Regions from separate parts of the Homo sapiens genome. Here all the other regions are linked to region 1. Evidence: promoter capture Hi-C in human tissues and cell types (Jung and others, 2019). All regions are on one chromosome and are shown on one strand. The core of a region is centred on a gene start or on the middle of the fragment in contact, and the rest is flanking DNA. Distances in the headings are between cores, read along the strand shown.

Region 1 (3,321 bases), core at 412-2,911:
TCTTCCTGACCCACCTCCAACCCCAGCTGACGGCCGCCCTGAGCCTGGCGTAGACGGCCCGGAACGTTCCCTGCGTGGGTTCCGTCCATCCCGAACCCCTGTCCCCGCGCCGGCTCCGGGGGTGCTCGGGGGGCCGCGTGGGGTCTGTGACGTCGCCTCGAGGCTGCATCCCGGTGACCCGGCAGCCCCTGGCGCTCGCGGGAGGCGGGCGGGCGCGGACCCCAGGCTTTAGGGCGCGATTCCTGCAGCTGGCTGCCGGCCCGAGGTTCTGGGGTGTCTGAGGTCTCGGGCGGGGCGAGGACGTTTCTCCGGCTCAGCCCCCCCACCTCCTGCCCTGCCGCCCCCCACACCCAGCTCCCCACGGACGCCAAGAGGCGCCTCCCACCCCGGCGAGGACCCGCGGGGAAACGGGGCCCAGGCGCGGCGACTGCGGAGGACGCGCCTCGGCCCCAGCGCCCTGGTCCTCGGGGCGTCCGGCTGCCCTTGCCCGAGGCCGGGGCGGGCGCTCAGCGCCGCGGAAGAAACGCCCGGGCGGGGACGCACAGCGAGGCGGGCTCCGCGGGAAGTACCGGGAAAACGGCGCGGAGCGGAACAGCCCGGAGCCAGCCCAGAGAAAGGGCGGCCTCCCCCTGCAGCCCCCGGGGCCCAGCAACGCCCCGCCCCAGGCCACGGCACGCGAACGCCGGGCGGGCGGAGGGGACAGGGCGGCGGGACCAGCGCGGGGCGGGCAGCGTCTGGGCACAGGCTCACGAGCCGCTCGGGGCCCCTGCCCGCCGGGCGCTGCGGCCCCAGCCTCCGGGCCGGGGCCAGGCCCACAGAGAACGGGAAGCGGGCGCTGCAGGGGGACCTTCGGGGTTGCGGCACGGCTGGGAATTCAACGGCCATTCCCGTCCCGTCGGGCCCACCCGCCCGCCCGCCAAATCCCCGCCCACCGCGGATCCGCCCCGTCCACCAAGGTCTCGCTCACCAACGGCCCGCCCCGCCCACCACAGGCCTGGCCCGCCCACGAAGGCTCGCCCCGCCCATCCACGGCCCTGCCCACCACAGGCCCGCCCCAAGCCTGGGCCCCGCCCCAGCAAGGGCACTAATCCCCTAACCCCCGAGCCCCGCCCACTGCTCTTGCCCTTCTCCCGCCCGCCCCGACTTAGGCCTCTCCCCGGCCTGGCCTCCCGTACTCAGCCCCGCCCCTGCCCCGCCCCCACCCCACCCCAAATGTGACCTGCCCCTCCCACTGCCCGTCCCCTCCCCGCTTCACTTCATTAGGCCCCCGCCCCGATTCTTGCCCCGCCCGCTCAATGTCCCGCCTACGACCCCGCCCACTACTAGTGACCGGCCCGCCCGTTCGAGGCCCCGCCTCCTCCCCGCCCAATGCTCGGCCCCGCCCCGCGCGTCATTGGGCCAGGTCCCCGCCCCGCCCCCAGCCCCACCCCCGCCCCTTTGACTGGAGTTGGCTTTTTCCAGAGAACTTTCCGGGCTCGGATTGGCCGCGCCGGTTGATGTTCCGCCCTTTCATTGGCCCGCGGCGCCCGCTTTCGCGAGCCTGCCCTTGGGCGGGGGCGGGGCCGGCGGCGGCGCGCGGCGCTAGATTGGTTAGCGGCGCAGAGGGGCGGGCCCGCGCCGCGCGCAGCGCTCGGGCTGGAGCGCCTGAAGCCGCGACCGCCGCCTCAGCCGCCTCAGCCGCGGTCGCCGCCGCTTCGGCTGACTTAGGCTCCGCCGCCGCCTCCTCACCCGCCTCGCCCCGACCCCGCCCGGGCCTCCCGGCCTCTCCCCGCCGGCCCGCGGGCTCGCCGTCCGGCGCAGGGCAGGTGAGTGAGCGGTGGCGGGCGGGGTCGGGGTCGGGCGCCCTTGCGGGTTACGGGGACCCAGTCCCCGACGGAGGCCGAGTGACGGGGCGACCCCGGGCCGCGGCAAACTTCGCCCGAGCCGGGGCGGGCGGGGGTCCCGGGCTGGGTCGCGCCGTCCCCGACCGCCGCCGGCGCCTGCGGCGGCCCGGGGCAGCGAGGGGACTCGCGCTCCCTCAAGGTGCGGTCGCCAGGCCTGGCCCGCCCGCCTCCGCCCCCTCCCCAAATTCGGAAGTTGCGGCGGGAAGCCGAGAACGTCTCGGATGTGGGTCAGAAAACGTCTGGACTACTTGAGGCTTCAGTTTCAAAACGGCACAAATTTCATCTCTTGATTGAGAAGAGATCTGGGGAACACCCCGGAGCGGCCGCGGCGGCTGGAGGGCGGCGGGGCGGGGCGCGGGGCCTCCTCCCCCTGGACGGCCGCCGGGAGAGCGCGGCCTCACCCCTCGGTGACCCTGCGGAGAGCCGCGCGCGGGCGGTGGGGCGCGCGCAGGTCTCTCTTGTTGCTCGCTGTGTTTTATTTTAATTTTGGGGGTGGTTAGAACGTGTTTCTTATTGTCCCCACACGTGTTCTAATTGGAAGTCTTGTTTCGTGAAAGAGTTTTTTTCTTTTTTTTGCCTGGTGATGTTTTCCAATTCCCTCCGCGCCACTCTGAAGTATATTACTGGCATAAGAAATTTGAAAGTTAACCAAAAGTCGGGTCCTAAATCTCGTGGCTCGGGGTTGGTTATCTTCCACCGTCCTTCAGAGCAGCCTGGATTTGCAGGTCTTGTTAGCCCTCCATGTGAGCCAGTAGCACTCTTAGTTGTTGAGTGTTTGTAGAGTGGGATTCGCCAGAAGGAATCTTGAGCAGCAGGGCCTTGCGGAGAGGCCTTTAGAGATTAGACTGGGCAACTTATAGACTCCCCCCATTTCAAAAATATTCCTCTGGCACAGGCCCTCACATATCCCTCTGAAATTGAACTCACTTTCAGGGGCAAACTGTTGCCCTTTTTCTTTTCTTTGGACTTTCTCAGATGTGGATCCCAAAGGAGTGTGCAAGGGTGCTTCCCTATTTAAGAGAACTAACTCCCAGTCCTCCTCATATTCAAGAATAATTCATCATCTTAAAGCGTGTCAGAGATACCTATTTTGGCCCCAAAAGGAGTGTTTGTAGAACAGTGGCACTCTAAAGGGATCATTTGCAAGATCTGAAAGGACCTAATTGATCATCACACGACAGAAGCAGAAATAGTTCTGGTGTTTTCAGGCTTGGAGATCTGTCAGAAAACATGGGGCCTTAAAACTAACAAGTGCAGTGACCGACTAACTGATGTCTCACTTTCGAGCAGTATTTTTTTTTTTTGCTTGTATGTAGATGCTGTTGTTTATACAGTGCAAGTTCATTACGAATGGTTTAGAACTTACGTAGCTTCACGTATTTTCTTAGTTGATAATATTATAAGGTTTTGAAAAAGTTTTGATGATAAATGGGGTCTT
Region 2 (3,006 bases), core at 270-2,769, 130 kb after region 1:
TTCCTTTGTGTATATATACTACATCTTCTCTATCCATTCACCCTTTGATCAATACTTAGGTTGATTCCATATCTTATTATTGTGAATAGTACTGCAATAAACATAGGAGTGCAGGTACTACTTTGATATACTGATTTTATTTCCTTTGGGTAGATACCCAGTAGTGGGATTGCTTGATTTAATGGTAATTTTATTTTTAGTTTTTTTGAAAAATCTCTGTACTGTTTTCCATAGTGGCTGTACTCGTTTACATTCCCACCAATGATATATAAGTATTTTCTTTTTCCTGCATCCTCACCAACACCTGTTATTTTTTTATTATGGCCATTCTATTTTTAATAACAGCCATTCTGAATGGTTCAAGATGACATCTCATTGTGGTTTTGATTTGCGTTTCTCTGGTGATTAATTATGTTGAACATTTTTTTCACATACTTCTTGGCTGTTTGTGTGTCTTCTTTTAAGAAATGTCTATTAAGGTCCTTTGTTCACTTTTTAGTGGGACTATTTGTTTTTTTCCCTTTTGATTGAGTTCCCTTTATATTCTGGATGTTAGTCCTCTGTCAGAAGAATAATTTGCAAATATTTTCTCCCTATTCAACAGGTTGTCTTTTCACTCTGCTGATTGTTTTCTTTGCTGTGCAGAAGCTTTTTAATTTAATATAGTTCCATTTGTCTATTTTTGTTTTTGTTGCCTATGCTTTTGCGGTCTTAGTCATAAATTCTTTGCCTAGACCAATGTCCGGGAGAGTTTTCCCTAGGTTTTCTTCTAGTATTTTTATAGTTCCATGTCTTACATTTAAGTATTTTTATAGTTTCAGGTCTTACAGTTAAGTATTTTTATAGTTTCAGGTCTTACATTTTAAGTATTTAATCCATTTTGAATTGATTTTTGTGTATGGTGAGAGATAAGGTCGAATTTTATTCTTCTGCATGTGGCTATCCAATTTTTTCCACCACCGTTTATTGAAGAGGGTGTCCTTTTCCCCCAGTGTAAGTTCTTGTCAGCTTTGTTGAAGATTATGTTGAACATTTTTTCACATACTTCTTGGCTGTTTGTGTGTCTTCTTTTAAGAAATGTCTATTCATGTCCTTTGTTCACTTTTTAATGGGACTATTAAACCAGAAGCTTTGTGGTTTTATTTCTGGGTTCTCTATTCTGCTCCAGTGACCTCTGTGTCTATTTTTATATAAGTGCCATACTGTTCTGGTTACTGTACCCTTGTTATATATTTTGAAGTCAGATAATGTAATGCCTCCAGCTTTGTTCTTTTTGCTCAGGATTGCTTTAGCTATTTGTGCCCTTTTTTGGTTCCATATGGATTTTAGAATTTTTTTTTCTAATTCTGTGAATGAGGTTGGTATTTTGATAGGGCTTGCATTGAATCTGTAGATTGCTTTGGGCAATATGGTCATTTTAATGATATTAATTCTTCGTATCCACGAACATGGGATGCTTTTCCATTTGTGTCATCTTCAATTTCTTTCATCAGCACTTTGTAGTTTTCCTTATAGAAATCTTTCCTTTCCTTGGTTAAATTTATTCCTAGGTATTTTGTGTAGCTGTTGTAAATGTGATTGTCTTCTTGATTTCTTTCTTGACTAGATCACTATTGGTGTGTGGAAATGCTGCTGATTTTGTATGTTGATTTTGTATCCTGCAACTTACTGAATTCATTTATCGCATCTAAAAGTTTTATGGGGCCGGGCGTGGTGGCTCACACCTGTAATCCTAGCACTTTGGGAAGCTGAAGTGGGCAGATCACAAGGTCAAGAGATTGAGATCATCCTGGCCAACATGGTGAAACTCCATATCTACTAAAAAAAAATGCAAAAATTAGCTGGGCGTGGTGGTGCGTGCCTGTAATCCCAGCTACTCGGGAGGCTGAGGCAGGAGAGTCCCTTGAACCTGTGAACCGAGATTGCGCCACTGCACTCCAGCCTGGCGACAGAGCAAGACTCCATCTCAAAAAAAAAAAAAAGAAAAAAAAGTCTTTTTGGTGGAGACTTTAGTTTTTTCTGGATAAAATTATATCATCAGCAAAGAAGGACAATTTGACTTCCTCTTTTTCAACTTGGTTTCCTTTTATTTATTTCTCTTTCCTGGCTGCTCTGGCTAGGACTTCCAGTATTATGTTGAATAGGAGTGGTGAAAGTACGTATCTTTATCTTCTTCTAATTCTTAGAGAGAACACTCTTAGCTTTTCTCTAGTATTATGTTGGTTGTGGCTTTGTCATATATGGCTTCATTATTTTGAGGTATGTTACCACTATGCTTAGTTTGTTGAGAGTTTTTATCATGAGGAGATGTTGAATTTTATCAAATGCATTTTTGCATTTATTGAGATGGCCATATGGTTTTTATCACTCACTCTGTTATGTGATATATCATGTTTATTGATTTCTGTATGTTAAACCATACTTGTATTCCTGGTATAAATCTCACTTGATTATGGTGTATTATTTTTCTGATGTGCTGTTGGATTTGGTTTGCTAACATTTTGTTGAGCATTATTGTGTCTGTGTTCATCAGGGATATTGGCCTGTAGTTTTATTTTGTTGTATTCTTGTCTGGTTTTGGTGTCAGGGTAATGCTGCCCTTGTAGAATGAATTAGGAAGATTTCCCTTCTCTTTGATATTTTGGAGTAGTTTCTGGAGGATTAGTATTAGTTTTTCTTTGTACTTTTGGTAGAATTCTGCTGTGAATTCACCTGGACCTGGACTTTTCTGTATTGGGAGGCTTTTACTACTGATTCAGTCTCACTATTCCTTATTAGTCTGTTCAGGATTTTTATTTCCTCCTGACTCAGTCTTGGCAGGTTGTATACTTCCAGGAGTTTATCCATTTCTTCCAGGTTTTCTAGTTTGTGAGTATATAGCTTTTTTTTTTATAATAGTCTCTGATGATCTTTTGTATTTCTGTGGTATCAGTTTAATTTAAATGCCTCCTTATTCATTTCTGATTTTGTTTTCTTTGGTTCTTCTCTCTTCTTTTTTATTTAAAA
Region 3 (2,989 bases), core at 171-2,670, 200 kb after region 1:
CCTGGGGACACCACCGGTGGGGAGAAGGGTGCTTGGTACTGCTGGGTGGGAGTGGAAGCCGAGGCTCTCAGCTCAGCCCCTCTGACCGGGCAGGGTGCTGTGTGCGTCCTGTCCTGTGCATGGAGCAGGGCAGGTATTCTCAGATGCTTTCTGACCTAATAGGTTCCTCCTTTCCCATCCCTTTCCCTAGAGAGAATTTTCTTGAGACTGTTTTTTTCCAGTGTGTATCCTTTGGCATTTTTCAGTTGCTTTTCCAGTGCCCTGTCTGAAATATAGAGGAGGAAGCACAAACAAAACGAACAAACAAATAAGAAACCCAAAGAATAGCGAACTCACCGCTGTGTCATTCTCCAAATCCCAAGGGCCCAGCCAGTCCCCCTTCTTCCCTCCAGCTTTCAGGGTTCTCTTCTGTTTGTTCCACATGTAATGTCCAGAGTTGTTGGCTGTGCTCAGCAGGAAGAATAGGGAGAGAGGTGTCTATTCCATCCTGTCCAGAACCAGAAGGCATGGCTTCCTTTACGTGACTACTATCCCCTGTGCCTTCGCAGTTGTTTTTCTTGATTAATCTCATCAGAGGGTTGTATATTATTTAGACTTTAAGAACCAAATTTTATATTTACTGATCTTCTCAGTTGCCTTTGTTTCTTTGCTTAACTTCTGAACTTTTCTTTATTATTACCTTTCCACTTTCTGTGGATACTTTCTGTTCTTTTTCTAACTTTTTAAATGGGATTCGTGACTCACTAATTTTGTGTTTCTTTACTCCTTTTAAAAGCTATAAACTTTACTGTGAGTTCTGTTGCAGCTGTTTGCTACAAATTTTGGCATGCAATAATTTTATTATTGTTGAGGTCTGTTTTCTGATCTCATCTATTTCTTATCTGGAAACATTTAAAAAGTGTTTTGTCCAAGGGAATTGTAAAGTTATCTTTTGCTAATGATATTTAATTGCCTACTGAGTAGGAGATATGTTCTGTGGACTCCATGTTTTCAACATTTGTTGAAACCTGCAATATGAACTAAAACGTTATCAATTTTTGTTTTGTTCTCTGAGAGCCTTAGGAGAATGTGTTACCTCTGCTTGTCAGGTACAGGGTTTTATATACACACAGACACACATACGCACTATCATGTTGTTTGTGCTGTTAATATATTCTGCATCTTTATTACTTTTGTGGGGTATACTTGTGTGAACTGTAAAGGAGAGAGGTATGTTGGCATCTCCCACCAGTTGGGCGATTTGGGGCCTGTGACCTCTGACCTCACTGCTCCTTCTTGTAGCATTCTTCCTCCATTAATGCTCGTCTCTCTCCTTGACCTTCTTTCAGTCTTTCTTCTCAGTGTTTCTACCCAAAATTGCAGGCCCCAGCTCCAGCAGTCTGGTTGCGGACAAGGCCGTGCTTGTTTTTCATTGGGCTGGTCTGTCCAGCTCCAAGGCTGCCCTTTGAGCCGGACGATTGACCCACTGCATTAGGAAATGCTTTGCCGTCTTGGTGAGAGCCCCACTTTAGGGAGGTCTTGCACACTGCTGCATGGAGCATAGACACGTTGGGTGGGAGGTGCCCCAGCACCTAAGGACTCTTATGATTGGGTGGCAGGGGTGGGTGGTGCTGCCCTGCCCTCCAGAGCCCTTCACATGGTCCAGATGTCACCCAGCGCAAGGTGAGGGAGCCCTGGGGTCACATTCTCCACCCTCCCTCCAGCATTGTTGCAGCCGCAGGACACCTGCCAGGGTAGAATTCAGCGTGGCTGGAGGATTTTGTGTGGCAGAAGTAATGGAGATGGTAGGCAGGCTGGTCTCCCCGCTCCTCTGTGAGCACTGTGTGTTGGTGCTCCCTGCCAATGGTGCTCCCCGCGGCATGGTTCCACGCGCACCACAAGGGCAGCGTGGCTTCCTCATCTTAGATGTGACAGAATGGAGATAGTTCTGGGTGTTAGCCCACAAAAGTGGCAACGTTAGGGTCCAAACTCTGGTACATATGAAACCATGGTTCTTCTTTCTTCCTCTCCAGGCAGATTCATAAGAAGAAGACTGGGTCTGAGTTTATATACATATATATAAAGTTATATATAAACTTCATATACGTATATAAAGTTATAACTTTATATACGTATATGAAGTTTATATACGTATATAAAGTTTATATATATGCTTTATTTATATATATAGTTTACATATATATATGCTTTATTTAAGGTTGAACAAAATTTTGCATTCATCAGAAGCTTCCTTTTATGAATTCTTAGACTTTTTTACTGGGTACCCCAGAGATTTAAGGTATCAGCTTGAATATCTTCTAAACTGTTCTCCCTAAAAGGACCATACCTGGATTCTCAAGGAGTCCACCTCCGGAGGGGTCACTGACAGTTCTGCTCTCTTATGCCTTTTGTTCATCTTAACCAGCCTTGGTTAGCAAGGGGCACCTGCCACCAGATGATCTCTTACCAAGTCATGGTTTCCTGTCTGAAGCGGTTTCCCTGATGCTGAGAGGCATGAGGAGAATGTTACAGAGAGACAGCATGCTGCCTTGTGATTGTCTGAGGTTTGAAACCTTCTGGTGAAGCTGAAACCATTTCTTAAGAGCCTGGCTAATGCTGTGAGCTGCTTAAGCACCCGTGTGCACATGTGTGTAAGTGTGTGCCTTTGCCATGTGTATGCATGTGAGCTGCTTAAGCACCTGTGTCCACACGTGTGAGTGTGTGCCTTCACCTGTGTATGTGTGTGTGTGAGCTGCTTAAGCACCCGCGTGTACACGTTTGTGAGTGTGTGCCTTTGCTGTGTGTATGCATGTGTGTGAGCTGCTTAAGCACCCGTGTGCACACGTGTGAGTGTGTGCCTTTGCCGTGTGTATGCATGTGTGTGAACTGCTTAAGCACCCGTGTGCACATGTGTGAGTGTGTGCCTTTGCCATGTGCATGCATGTGTGTGAGCTGCTTAAGCACCCGTTTGCACATGTATGTGAGTGTGTGCCTTTGCCATGTGTATGCA
Region 4 (3,196 bases), core at 619-3,118, 180 kb before region 1:
GGGGGACTCCATCAGCGTTCCTGGCCTGCATTGCCTCTGGCCAGGGGTGGGCCTCAAGCTTTATCAAGGAGCCCCTTCCCAGGTGTGGCCTGGCCGGGAGGGTCCTGCCCCCTCTTCTGGCCTCTCAGCTCCTCCCCAGCCCAGGCTCCTCTTGGGTTAGCCCCAACTCCTGCCGGACCCCTATGTTGGGCTGGACACTCCCAGCCCTGGGTGAGGGGCAGGAGGAGGAGGGGGAGCCCAGCCTGACCCCTCGGGCAGACTTCGAGGCCCCGAAAGTGGGGGTGCTGGGCTGTGATCCGGGCACCAGAACAGAGCCCTCGAGGCCCACAGAGGTCCCTGGCTGCATCTCCAGGGATCAGGGAGTATGTGCCCCTGAGGGGAGGGGAGCTGGAGGGGTCCTGCTGCCTCCTGCCCGGCTCCATCTCCAGCGCCCCCTCCACCTCGTCCTGGGCACTGCCCTGTGTGTCCACCCCGCCGGCCCACCTCGAGGAGAGTGTGGGGGACAGTGCAGCCGTGCTGGGGCGTGGGGGGCGCTCAAAGGGAGGGTGAACCCTGTGGTCAGCACACAAGCAGGGACCCTGTGGAGGGTTTTGCTGTGTTGTGGGCTTGTCCCTCAGGTCCACGAGGAAGGGAGTGAGGCCCCCTCACACGGGAGGGCCGGGGTGGGGTAGGGAGGCTCCCTTGCTGCAGCTGCCAAGAGTGAGCGAGCGGGGCTTGGGCTTGGGCTGCCCGGGACACTGCCTCCAGGAAGCCCCCTGGGCTGTCTCAGTGGGACTCTGTGAGTGACACATGGAGCTCAGGTCACAAGGGCTGTGGGAGTGTCACCCCACAACAGCAACGGGTGCCTGGCCCTCTGGACTTTGCTCTCTACACCCCTCCTGAGCTCTCACAAACCCTGGCCCCTGGGACCGGAGGCAGGTGATGTTTCCAAGGAGTCCTACAGGCAAGCATCCTCTGACCTGGGAGCTGCGTATTGTTCCCGTTTACAGGTGAGAAACTGAGGCCTAGGAAGGACAGACACGTGTGCGTGCCGCAAGTGTGGCTAGCAAGGAGGGAGCCTGGAGGAGGGCCCAGCAGCCTGGCCCCAGAGCGCTCTTCAGCATCGCAGCAGATGCAGGACAAGCAAGCTCCCAGCCGGGGAGCACCAGGAGACCAGCAGGCATCCACCCTCGTGGTGCAGGCCATCTGATGAGGGCAGGGACCAGTGCCGGGATGGATAGTGCCTGTGCACAGAGTGGGGCGCAACTGGGCACAGCTGCCACCGGGGTGCTCGGGAGGCAGGTCCACACACACGCCGGCCAAGTCGCTCATCTCAAATGCACGAGTCCCGTGATCTTGGAAAGTGGTGCACAGGCCCCTGGGCTGGGGCTTCCTCTGCCTCCACCCCCATCACTGGACATTCGGAGGTCAGTGGGAGGCCACGGGAGTGCACGTGAAGGTCATGTCACCATGATGGCCCCGAGGGGCTGCTCCTTCATCGCTCCTCCCTACCCCATGGGCCAGCCACTGGCACACAGGTGTCCTTATATGGTGCTTACCTCTTGCTCCTTTAGTCAAATGCAGAATTTGAGAAAATGTCCCTTCTCCTTAAAATGCTTTGATTTGTTTGATGTTTCCATGTAACTTTGGTTTAAGAAGGGAGAAGACCACTCTGGGAAATAACTCATGCTTATCTCTCACCGCTTGGCAACCTACAAATATTTTTTCGATGATGCTGGCTAAGCTTCTCGTAAATTCTCCATGCCTCTTAGATGCACCAAGAGTGACTCAGCATTTAACTCCTACTGGAGTGTCAAGGGCCCAGTGCATTGGGTGCAGTTGTCTGTGGGTACAAGATCTTGTGTGATTCTGAACTAAGCACAGACAGAATGAAAAGCACAGCACTCCAAACAGGGCTTCCTGCAGGTCCTTTTACGTATATTTGGGTTTTTGTATATATCTAAGGTCAAGCTAGTGGACATCTATCACTTCAACCAGTTACCGTTGTGAGTGTGGTGAGAAAACTTAAGATCTACTCAAGTTTGAAGTGCCATATGCGATACAGTATTCTAGCTGTAATCACCATGTGTACATTAGACCTCTAGAACTTACTTTTCCTGCATAACTGAAACTTTGTACCCTTCGACCAACAGTCACATTTCCTCTTCTCTGTGGGCTGGCCTCGGCTGTGCCCTGTTAGCATTCCCAGATAAACAAAAGCTAAGGGGGTTAATTGCCACTAGACCTTCCCTGCAGGAAATGGTCCAGTAGTCCAACAGGCGAAATGAAAGGACACTACTCAGTAACAGTAAGTCAAGGAGGCCCCCGTTGCCTATGCACAGAGTGGGGTGGCAGCTGTGCCCCATTGCACCCCACTCTGTGCATGGGCACCGTCCATCCGGCACCAGTCCCTACCCCTTATCAGATGGCCTGCACCATTAGGGTGGACACCTGCTGGTCTCCTGGTGCCCCCCTGCAGGGCTCTTCCTTGTCCTGCATCTGCTGCAATGCTGAAGAGCAGTCTGGAGCCAGGCTGCTGGGCCCCCCTCGAGGCTTCCTTGCTAGCCACATCTGTGGCACACACGCATATTTGTCCTTCCTAGACCTCAGCCCCTGACAACCACCATTCTACTCTGCTCCTATGAATGTGACTTTTTTAGATCCCACATGTGAGATCATGCAGTATTTGCTTCTATGCCTGCCTTATTTCCTTTAGTTTAATATCCTCCAGGTTCATTCATAAAAAGTGCAGTTACAAACTGTTGTTGCAATACCAGCTTTTATAATTGCCCATGTATTTACCTTTATTGAGATCTTCATTTCTTCATGTGACTTACTGTTATTGACTAGTGTCCTTTCATTTTACCTGCTGGACTCCCTGGACCATTTTCTGCAGGGCAGGTCTAGTGGCAATTAACTCCCTTAGCTTTTGTTTATCTGGGAATGCCAATTTCTCCCTCACTTTTGAAGGACAGTTTTACTGGATATAGGACTCTTGGTTAACAGTTTTTTTTTTCTTTTAGTACATTGAATATATTGGTCCACTGCCTTTTGGCTTCCAAAGTTTCTGTGACAAATCTGCTGATAATCTTATTAAGAAGCCCTTGGATGTGATCAGTTGCTTTTCTCTTGCTGCTTTCCAGATTCTCTCTCTGTTTTTGAAAGTTTGATGATAATGTAACTTGGTGTGAGTCTCTTTGAGTTTACCTTACTTGGA
Region 5 (3,129 bases), core at 194-2,693, 240 kb before region 1:
CTGATAGACACACACAGACTCACTCCTCCATCCACCTGAGAAACAAAAGTTTTGCAGAAGTGTGCGATGACCACTTCTACTCTATGCTGTTCTCCTTAATCTTTTTATTTTTAAAAAATGTGGGTCATAATCCTTTACATTGATTTCCTTCCTCACAGTGCACCGCAAGCACTCAGGGAAGGACTCCAGGTTTGAAGGCAGATGCTGGTCGGGACCCGACCAGGTGGCTGGGCGGGAAGAGGTGAGATCGGGCAGGATTGGGCCTGGGAAGGCTGAGGCAGGCAGGGATGATGCCAGCAGAGGAGAATCCCAAGCAGGCCCCGCGGCTGCGGCTGGAGAGCTCCAGGGGCGGAGAGGAGGTGGGAGGCAGCAGTCAGGTTGGGAGGACCCTGGCAAGCAAGCCCAGAGAGGAGGGCCGGGAGGGCCGGGCACTAGAAGTGTGAAGTCACTGCTGCCTCCTGGGGCTGCTTCAGAGGATGGGTGGGGCCACGTGTGGGGAGATCAGGGAGACTGGAGACTACGCTGTTTGGTCCAGGCATAGGAGATGAGCCCTGGCCGGGAAGGGACAGTGTGGATGGGCCAGGCGGAATCAGAGGGTTTCAGAGAAAGCCGTCAAGCCAGTGCCATGAGTTTCGCGCACACGAGGAGGGAGCAGGCTGGGGGGTGTTGCTGGTGTGAGGGCTCTCTGGTTGCAGGGAGCGGTCCGGTCGGGTGGGGGCACAGCTGCCAGGAGGAAAGCGCCCAGGGCCTGCAGGTGGGGCTCAGGATGCTGGCCCTGAAGAAATAGAAACAGGGTTTTCACCTGGGAGGGAGGAGGAGCCTGGGAACTGGGGAGGAAGAGGCTCTGCTGGGCCGCGCCCTGGGAACAGGGGGACCTGGGGACAGATCTGGCCCTCGCACGCCCCTCCTGTCTCGCGTCCGTCCCTCCGTGCAGCCGGGGCAGGACCCTGCAGGGGCCTTGCGGGCCGGAGGTGCCGGCTTCCTCCTCCGTCCCGTCCCCCCCGCGGTGACTCTATTCAAATCTCCCCCCTTCCCGCTGCCCCACCGGACTCAGGGGCTGGGGTCGTAGCCCGGCGGGCAGCGGTGTTCACCTTCCGCATAAACCTGGGCTTCCTCGCGGGGCAGCCCCCGGGCCCTGTGCTGGGTCGCAGCCTCGGGCGGTTCCCTCGGGGCGGGACGTGTCCCCGTCCGTCCTCGCCCGTCCCCGCCGCCCCCGGGTCCCGGCCCGCCCCGTCCTCGCAGCCGCAGGTCCGCTGCGGCGCCCGCCCCCCTCTCCCCTCCCCGGGCCTTGCCCTGCTCGTCGCTCCGCCCCCTGCCCGGCCCCTGCCCGGCCCCGCCCCGCGCCCGCCCCCTGCCCGCGCCCGCCCCGCCCCCTGCCCGGCCCCTGCCCGGCCCCTGCCCGCCCCCTGCCCGGCCTCCCAGCGGCGGCGGCTGCAGCGCGGCGGTCCGAGCGGGTGCACCGCGGCGGAGGAGGCAGCATCCCGCGGCGCTGACGGTCCTGGGGAGAGCATGGCGCCGAGGTGAGGCCGGGGCTGCGGGCAGGGGTTGGGGGACGCCAAGATGCGGCTGCGGGGGTCGCGGGGGTCGCGGGGCTCGGCCGGGTCCTGCGGGGGTCGCGGGGGTCCTGCGGGGTCTGACCCGTGCCTGTCCCGCGCAGGTGCCCCTGGCCATGGCCGCGGCGGCGGCGCCTCCTGGACGTGCTCGCGCCCCTGGTCCTGCTGCTCGGGGTCCGCGCGGCCTCCGCGGAGCCAGGTAAGACCCGGGCGGGACGGGAAGGTTCGCGCCGGTGCCCGCCGGCCTCGCCGCCCTGGCTGGGGTCCCCGCCCGGCTCCCTCACCCCCGCCCCGGCCGCTCTGGGTTCAGCCCCGGCCCTGCCCACGCGCGCAGGAGGCGCCGGAGCCGGACGGAGCGGGGCGGGGTGGCCGGAGTCCCGCCCATTCATTCTCCCCGCGGGGTCCGGGCCGGGAGGGGTGCGCGGTGCGAGCGGCCGGAGTCCCCGCGCGGGGACCGAACCTCCGCGGCCGGCGGGGTCGTCGGTGCCGGGAGGGCTCGGGGCGGGGCCGCGGGGTCTCGGGAGACGCGGCCTCTGTCGCCGTCACGGCCTCGTCCCCGCAGCGCCGGGTCCCGGGACTGACCGCGGGCGGAAGGCGGCGGAGCGCGGGGCGTCGTCTCCGCGTTTCCAACCTGTTGAGGCTCCTCGCCGCGGGCCGGGCCTTGTGCGCCTCTGTCCCCGCCGCCCTCAGGCCTCTGTCCCCGCGCCCGCCGTGGTGTCGGGTTGCGCGGTCCCCTTTGATGCCAACCGAGCGCCGCGCGGTCCGAGAACAATGCCCAGAAGCCGCTGCCCCGCCGGCCTCGCCGCTTCCCGTGCGCGGCAAACGGTGCGCGGGGCCCGTGGGGACCTTCCTGCCTCCAACCCCGGGACCCAGTTCCCCACCACCTGCTAACCGGGGCCTCCTGCCTCCAGCCAGCCCAGCAGAGGCCCGGGGGAGGCGGCGGGGACGCGGACCCCAGGGGAGCCCCGCCCAAAGGGCCTGGGTGCCTTGTCGCGGGTGGAATCCCACCCGGGGGTCCACGCAGCCAGCGCCTGCCTCCGACTCGACTCCACACCTGCTTGCTACAGCGGGTGAGGAAGCAGGAAAGGGGGAGGGAGGGATGTCGTCTGGATTCCTGTAATAATTTGTTTCATTGTTTCCAATCGACTTAGTCACCAGGTTAAATAGTAGCATAGACCTTTCAAAAAAGTAGCTAGCTTATAAGTAGATGTATTGAAAACACCTGCTTGTTGAGTCGTAGACAATTCCTCATTTACTGTGTGAACTCTAGGGGGTGAAACACGGGCGGAGAGCGGCTGTGAGCTCACGCGGCTCCATCCCCACAGCGGCCCAGGGTCACTCGGGGCCATTAATCAGGCCGCAGAGCTGCCCTCTGAGCCGGGCCGCCAGCGCCCACAGGGCCCAGACCAGGGCTCCCTGGGCGGGATGTTTTAAATCGCACAGGGACAAAGGAAAGGAAAGACGCTGGGGCCCAAGCCCGAGCTTATGAAACGTTATCAAGGAGGAGATGTAAAAGGTGATGGTTTTTTTGCCTTTGAATAGAAAAAACAAAAACTGTTAACGCGAGCTTTGGTGA
Region 6 (3,372 bases), core at 804-3,303, 220 kb after region 1:
GTTATCACCCGGAGCTGTGGGCTCTGCTCGGAAAGCGGGGACTGGTGCTGCTTCTGCACGGCCAGGACCTCGGCAGGGCAGGCGGCTGTCCTGCAGAGGCCTCAGGCGGGCTCAGGGTGTGCACCCCCCACAGCCGGAGCCTCCCAAAGAAACATTTTCACCCCAGCTGAGGTGACTGAAGGGACTCAGGGCCACAGGCCGGATGCTATGACAGGGTCTCCAGGACCCCCGCATGGACTGGACCATCTGTGGGCAGAGCCAGCAGGCTTGGCCTGTCCTGCCGCACTCCAGCCAGCAGAATAGCAGTGGGCTTCCTTCTCCAAGCATGGGCTGCGGTGTTTCAATGAAATAGGACAAGTCAGTGGCTCTCCACGTGTGACCCCTGGACCCCCCTTGCCATCACCTGAGAACCTTCTGGACCTTCTGGATCTGTAAATTCTCAGCTTTCCTCCCCACCAGACTATGTCAGAAGCACTGAGGTAGGGCCCAGCTGAGTGTCCACACCTTGCACCCAGGGCCAGGGGCACAGCCTGTGCTGTTCAGTGAGCCATCAGGTCAGATATGAACCAGACAGACCTGTGGCCCAGTGACAGGAATTCCAGGTGCACAGGCCAGGGTTCTTATCGCAAGGAAATGACACAGGGCCTGCCCCATCTGCCCTGATGCCGAGCAAAAGAGAGGCTCATGGAACGTGAGAGGAGAAGGGGCTGTGGAGAAAATGTGGTCCTGCTCGCTCATGGTTAAGGTTAACAGGAACCCAAGACAGAGGCTGGGTGGGAGGGACGTTGTGGCAGAGGCTGTGAGGCCTCCAGGGGCTCAGGAGAAATGAAGGGTCTGTGTCTCTGGGGCAGGAACCAGCCACAGATGGCCTTAGGGGAGGAGAGGACCTGGGGAGGGGTCTGGTGGGAGGCGGGGGTGGCTGGAGCAATCCCAGAGAGGCTGAGGTGTTCAGGCTGGCCCCAGATGCACACGAGCGTGAAGCCTGTTCAGAAGCCAGCTCCTCACACCCTCTCCCCTGCCAGAGGCTCCAGCACCCCCTCCCCTCTCCTCTCCCCTCCCTTCCCTGTGGTCCTCCTGCCCACCCCACCCCCGTCTGCATGTGCACCGTCACGGAGATGCGTGTACTAGGGCGGAGGTCGGGGACAGTCGTCAGAAGGACACAGGAAAGAAGGGAACAGGAATCCCATAACAGAACATTATCCGGCAGGAGTAATTAACACAGGCAGGACTGGAGGCTTTGTTTTGTTTTGCTTAAAAAACAGTGGTATTTAAATTAATGGGCATGGGAAGACTATTCAGTGAAAGACATCGGTCATTGAGGTATCTATTCAAAAACACGGTTTAGTACTCTGCCACACACCGAACGCAACGCCACAGCAGCCATAGAAGCGTGTGTGGCTGTTTAACGTGGTCTTTTTGGGGAGGGCATCCTAGGCAGAGCAGGCGTGGAAGGGAAGGCGGCGGACGGAACAAAACGCGGGCACGCAACGGCTGCTGCGCCGGATCTGAGGCAGGGCCAGCCTGTGGGAGCAGCAACATCGCTCGCAGGACAGCGATGGAGCCCCCACGAATCCGCGTGAAAGCAGCAACCACCTAGAAATGAACGTACAGCTGCTTAGAAACAGAATACGGATGACCCGAAAGACTTCCCGATGGTAGTCACCAGCATACAGGACCTGACACGGGCGTGCGGGCAGGGTGTGCCGCTACGGGGTCCCTGGCGCACCTGCTACCCCTGCTACCCGCATTCACCGCACGCGGAGGGTGCGGGCCGTGAAGGTTATACATGCAAATATCCTTCCACCAGCCAGTTCTCCTTCCAGGAATCTGCCACCCGACCCTTGTGTTGTGCACAGACATGGTCCAGGTGTTTGCGACGTGATTGTTTATCAGAGAGAGAGAAGGGAAATCTCCAGGCTCGCTGTAGCTGCAGGAGCTCTGGGGGCTGCGCCCATCGTGGAGACGGATAGCTGTCTCTCATGAACACAGGACAGCAAGTCCGGCTGCGGCCACAGAAGACTCGCCCTCCTGGACGCAGCGTCTTCCTTCCTCAGCCCCACACTGGAGGTGGCCAGTGCCATCCACAGCAGAAGGGGCCAGCCGGGACCAGGCTCACGCCGTGGAATTCTGCTCTGTGGTAAGAGGAAGAGCGATAGCTGGAACCCAGCGCCGTCGCACACACAGCGGGGAAGAGTCTCAGAAATGTTACTTTGAGTCAAAAAGCTGGACAAAAAAAGGCGCAAGCCAGATGGTGCTGAAGAGGCCACAGGAGGCTGGCAGCCAGGGGGTCTGGCACCTCACTCGGAGGCGCAGTGGGCCCGTCCGGAATTAGTGGCCATACGGCAAGTGCCGAGTGGACATCAAACCGTCACTTCAGACTCCTGCGCTTCACTGCCTGTCGGTTATGCCTGGGTTTTGAAATCAAGTCACAGAACACCTGGAATGTGGTGTTTACGCAGAACAAAGCGGGTGCCTCGGAGGAGAGAGCCTAGGGACAGGGGCACCTCCCGGTGTGGGTGCCCAGGGTTGCAGGGTGGCTTCCTCTGTCTGCGCGGTTTTCAGAGCCCCAGGGTCCTGCCTGCCCGGCTGCCTGGAGGCGGCCCACATCCTGCTCTGCGCCGCCGAATCTCAGCCTGAACAGCTTCGCTGGTGTTTGTGTTGACTTATTTGTTCTTTTTTTTTTTTTTTTTTTTTAAATAAAGGATTCCGATGCTGTTACAGTCAATAAAAGCCACAGGTCTGGGTGACCTACAAATGTGTGTGTCTGACTTTCTGCAGTTTAAATCGCCACTGAGCCTTAAGGCGTCTGGCCCGCGCATTGAGGAATCCACGTGGGTCTCGGGGTCCCCATGCCTGCCCAGCTCCCTGCTTCAGCCTGGGCGGGTCTGGCGGGCATTTCTGCGAGCCTGTCCCTGGGCCCGCCTCCTGGCCAGACTTCCAGAAACATTGTCCACATCCCCGTTGCACGTCCCCCCGTCACCGGAAACTGCAGCCCACAGCACTGGGAAGAACCCGGGAGGCAGGCGTTAGGACGGGGTGGCCGAGACAGGGAAGGGAGCCATGGCGGACGTCCTCACCCAAGCCAGGGCTTCCTGCCCCTGTGGTACTGACAGGAGCCCCGCAGGACGTGGGGTTGGCTTTGGGCAGCTCGGTGGACACTTCTCTTTCAGATCCTGCCACAGCAAAGCTCACGAGACTCACTTCTTCCCATTGGAATTCACTAAGAACAAATTCAACAATTCAGACGCCCCAGCTGGAGGTTTATTTTATGGATTTTACCTGTGCGGTATTTAGGGTTGTGTTTATGAATAAAGGTGTGCGTTCTGGCAAGTAGAAATACAGAGCTTGTCTTTCACCCAAGTATCTGTAACT

The links. The method cuts DNA at HindIII sites, captures the fragments that hold promoters and counts their contacts. A contact is called where the count stands out against the background at its distance.
Region 2: a contact is called between a fragment that was not itself captured here and the fragment with the promoter of PCBP3 in region 1, in 5 of the 25 tissues and cell types used here (IMR-90 fibroblasts, aorta, lymphoblastoid cells and 2 more).
Region 3: a contact is called between a fragment that was not itself captured here and the fragment with the promoter of PCBP3 in region 1, in 5 of the 25 tissues and cell types used here (H1 embryonic stem cells, IMR-90 fibroblasts, hippocampus and 2 more).
Region 4: a fragment that was not itself captured here is called in contact with the fragment with the promoter of PCBP3 in region 1 in 3 of the 25 tissues and cell types used here (IMR-90 fibroblasts, lymphoblastoid cells and stomach).
Region 5: a contact is called between the fragment with the promoter of COL18A1 here and the fragment with the promoter of PCBP3 in region 1, in 4 of the 25 tissues and cell types used here (heart left ventricle, hippocampus, small bowel and 1 more).
Region 6: a contact is called between a fragment that was not itself captured here and the fragment with the promoter of PCBP3 in region 1, in 3 of the 25 tissues and cell types used here (IMR-90 fibroblasts, heart left ventricle and liver).

Annotation. Positions count from the first base shown.
Region 1 is chr21:45,642,064-45,645,384 of GRCh38, forward strand. PCBP3 (poly(rC) binding protein 3) reads left to right here and starts at 1,662. Exons shown (of 18, transcript NM_001384156.1): 1 at 1,662-1,805. RefSeq lists silencers at 867-1,856, 2,177-2,316. The HindIII fragment of the contact is 13,348 bases long and covers 1-3,321 here.
Region 2 is chr21:45,772,421-45,775,426 of GRCh38, forward strand. All of the region lies in intron 4 of PCBP3 (poly(rC) binding protein 3), which reads left to right. Among named protein-coding and RNA genes, the nearest start is that of PCBP3-AS1, 62 kb to the right of the region's middle. The HindIII fragment of the contact is 3,374 bases long and covers 1-3,006 here.
Region 3 is chr21:45,842,757-45,845,745 of GRCh38, forward strand. The region is part of intron 4 of PCBP3 (poly(rC) binding protein 3); the gene reads left to right. Among named protein-coding and RNA genes, the nearest start is that of PCBP3-AS1, 7.8 kb to the left of the region's middle. The HindIII fragment of the contact is 8,875 bases long and covers 1-2,989 here.
Region 4 is chr21:45,459,070-45,462,265 of GRCh38, forward strand. The region is part of intron 2 of COL18A1 (collagen type XVIII alpha 1 chain); the gene reads left to right. Among named protein-coding and RNA genes, the nearest start is that of MIR6815, 18 kb to the right of the region's middle. The HindIII fragment of the contact is 3,893 bases long and covers 1-3,196 here.
Region 5 is chr21:45,403,722-45,406,850 of GRCh38, forward strand. It overlaps COL18A1 (collagen type XVIII alpha 1 chain), which reads left to right and starts at 1,444. Exons shown (of 42, transcript NM_001379500.1): 1 at 1,444-1,520; 2 at 1,658-1,752. The coding sequence starts at 1,510. It overlaps BNAT1 (breast cancer associated ESR1 regulating natural antisense transcript 1), which reads right to left and starts at 2,641. Exons shown (of 2, transcript NR_183526.1): 1 at 2,446-2,641; 2 at 85-775. RefSeq lists an enhancer at 599-1,299. The HindIII fragment of the contact is 38,297 bases long and covers 1-3,129 here.
Region 6 is chr21:45,865,739-45,869,110 of GRCh38, forward strand. The region is part of intron 5 of PCBP3 (poly(rC) binding protein 3); the gene reads left to right. Among named protein-coding and RNA genes, the nearest start is that of PCBP3-AS1, 31 kb to the left of the region's middle. The HindIII fragment of the contact is 9,205 bases long and covers 1-3,372 here.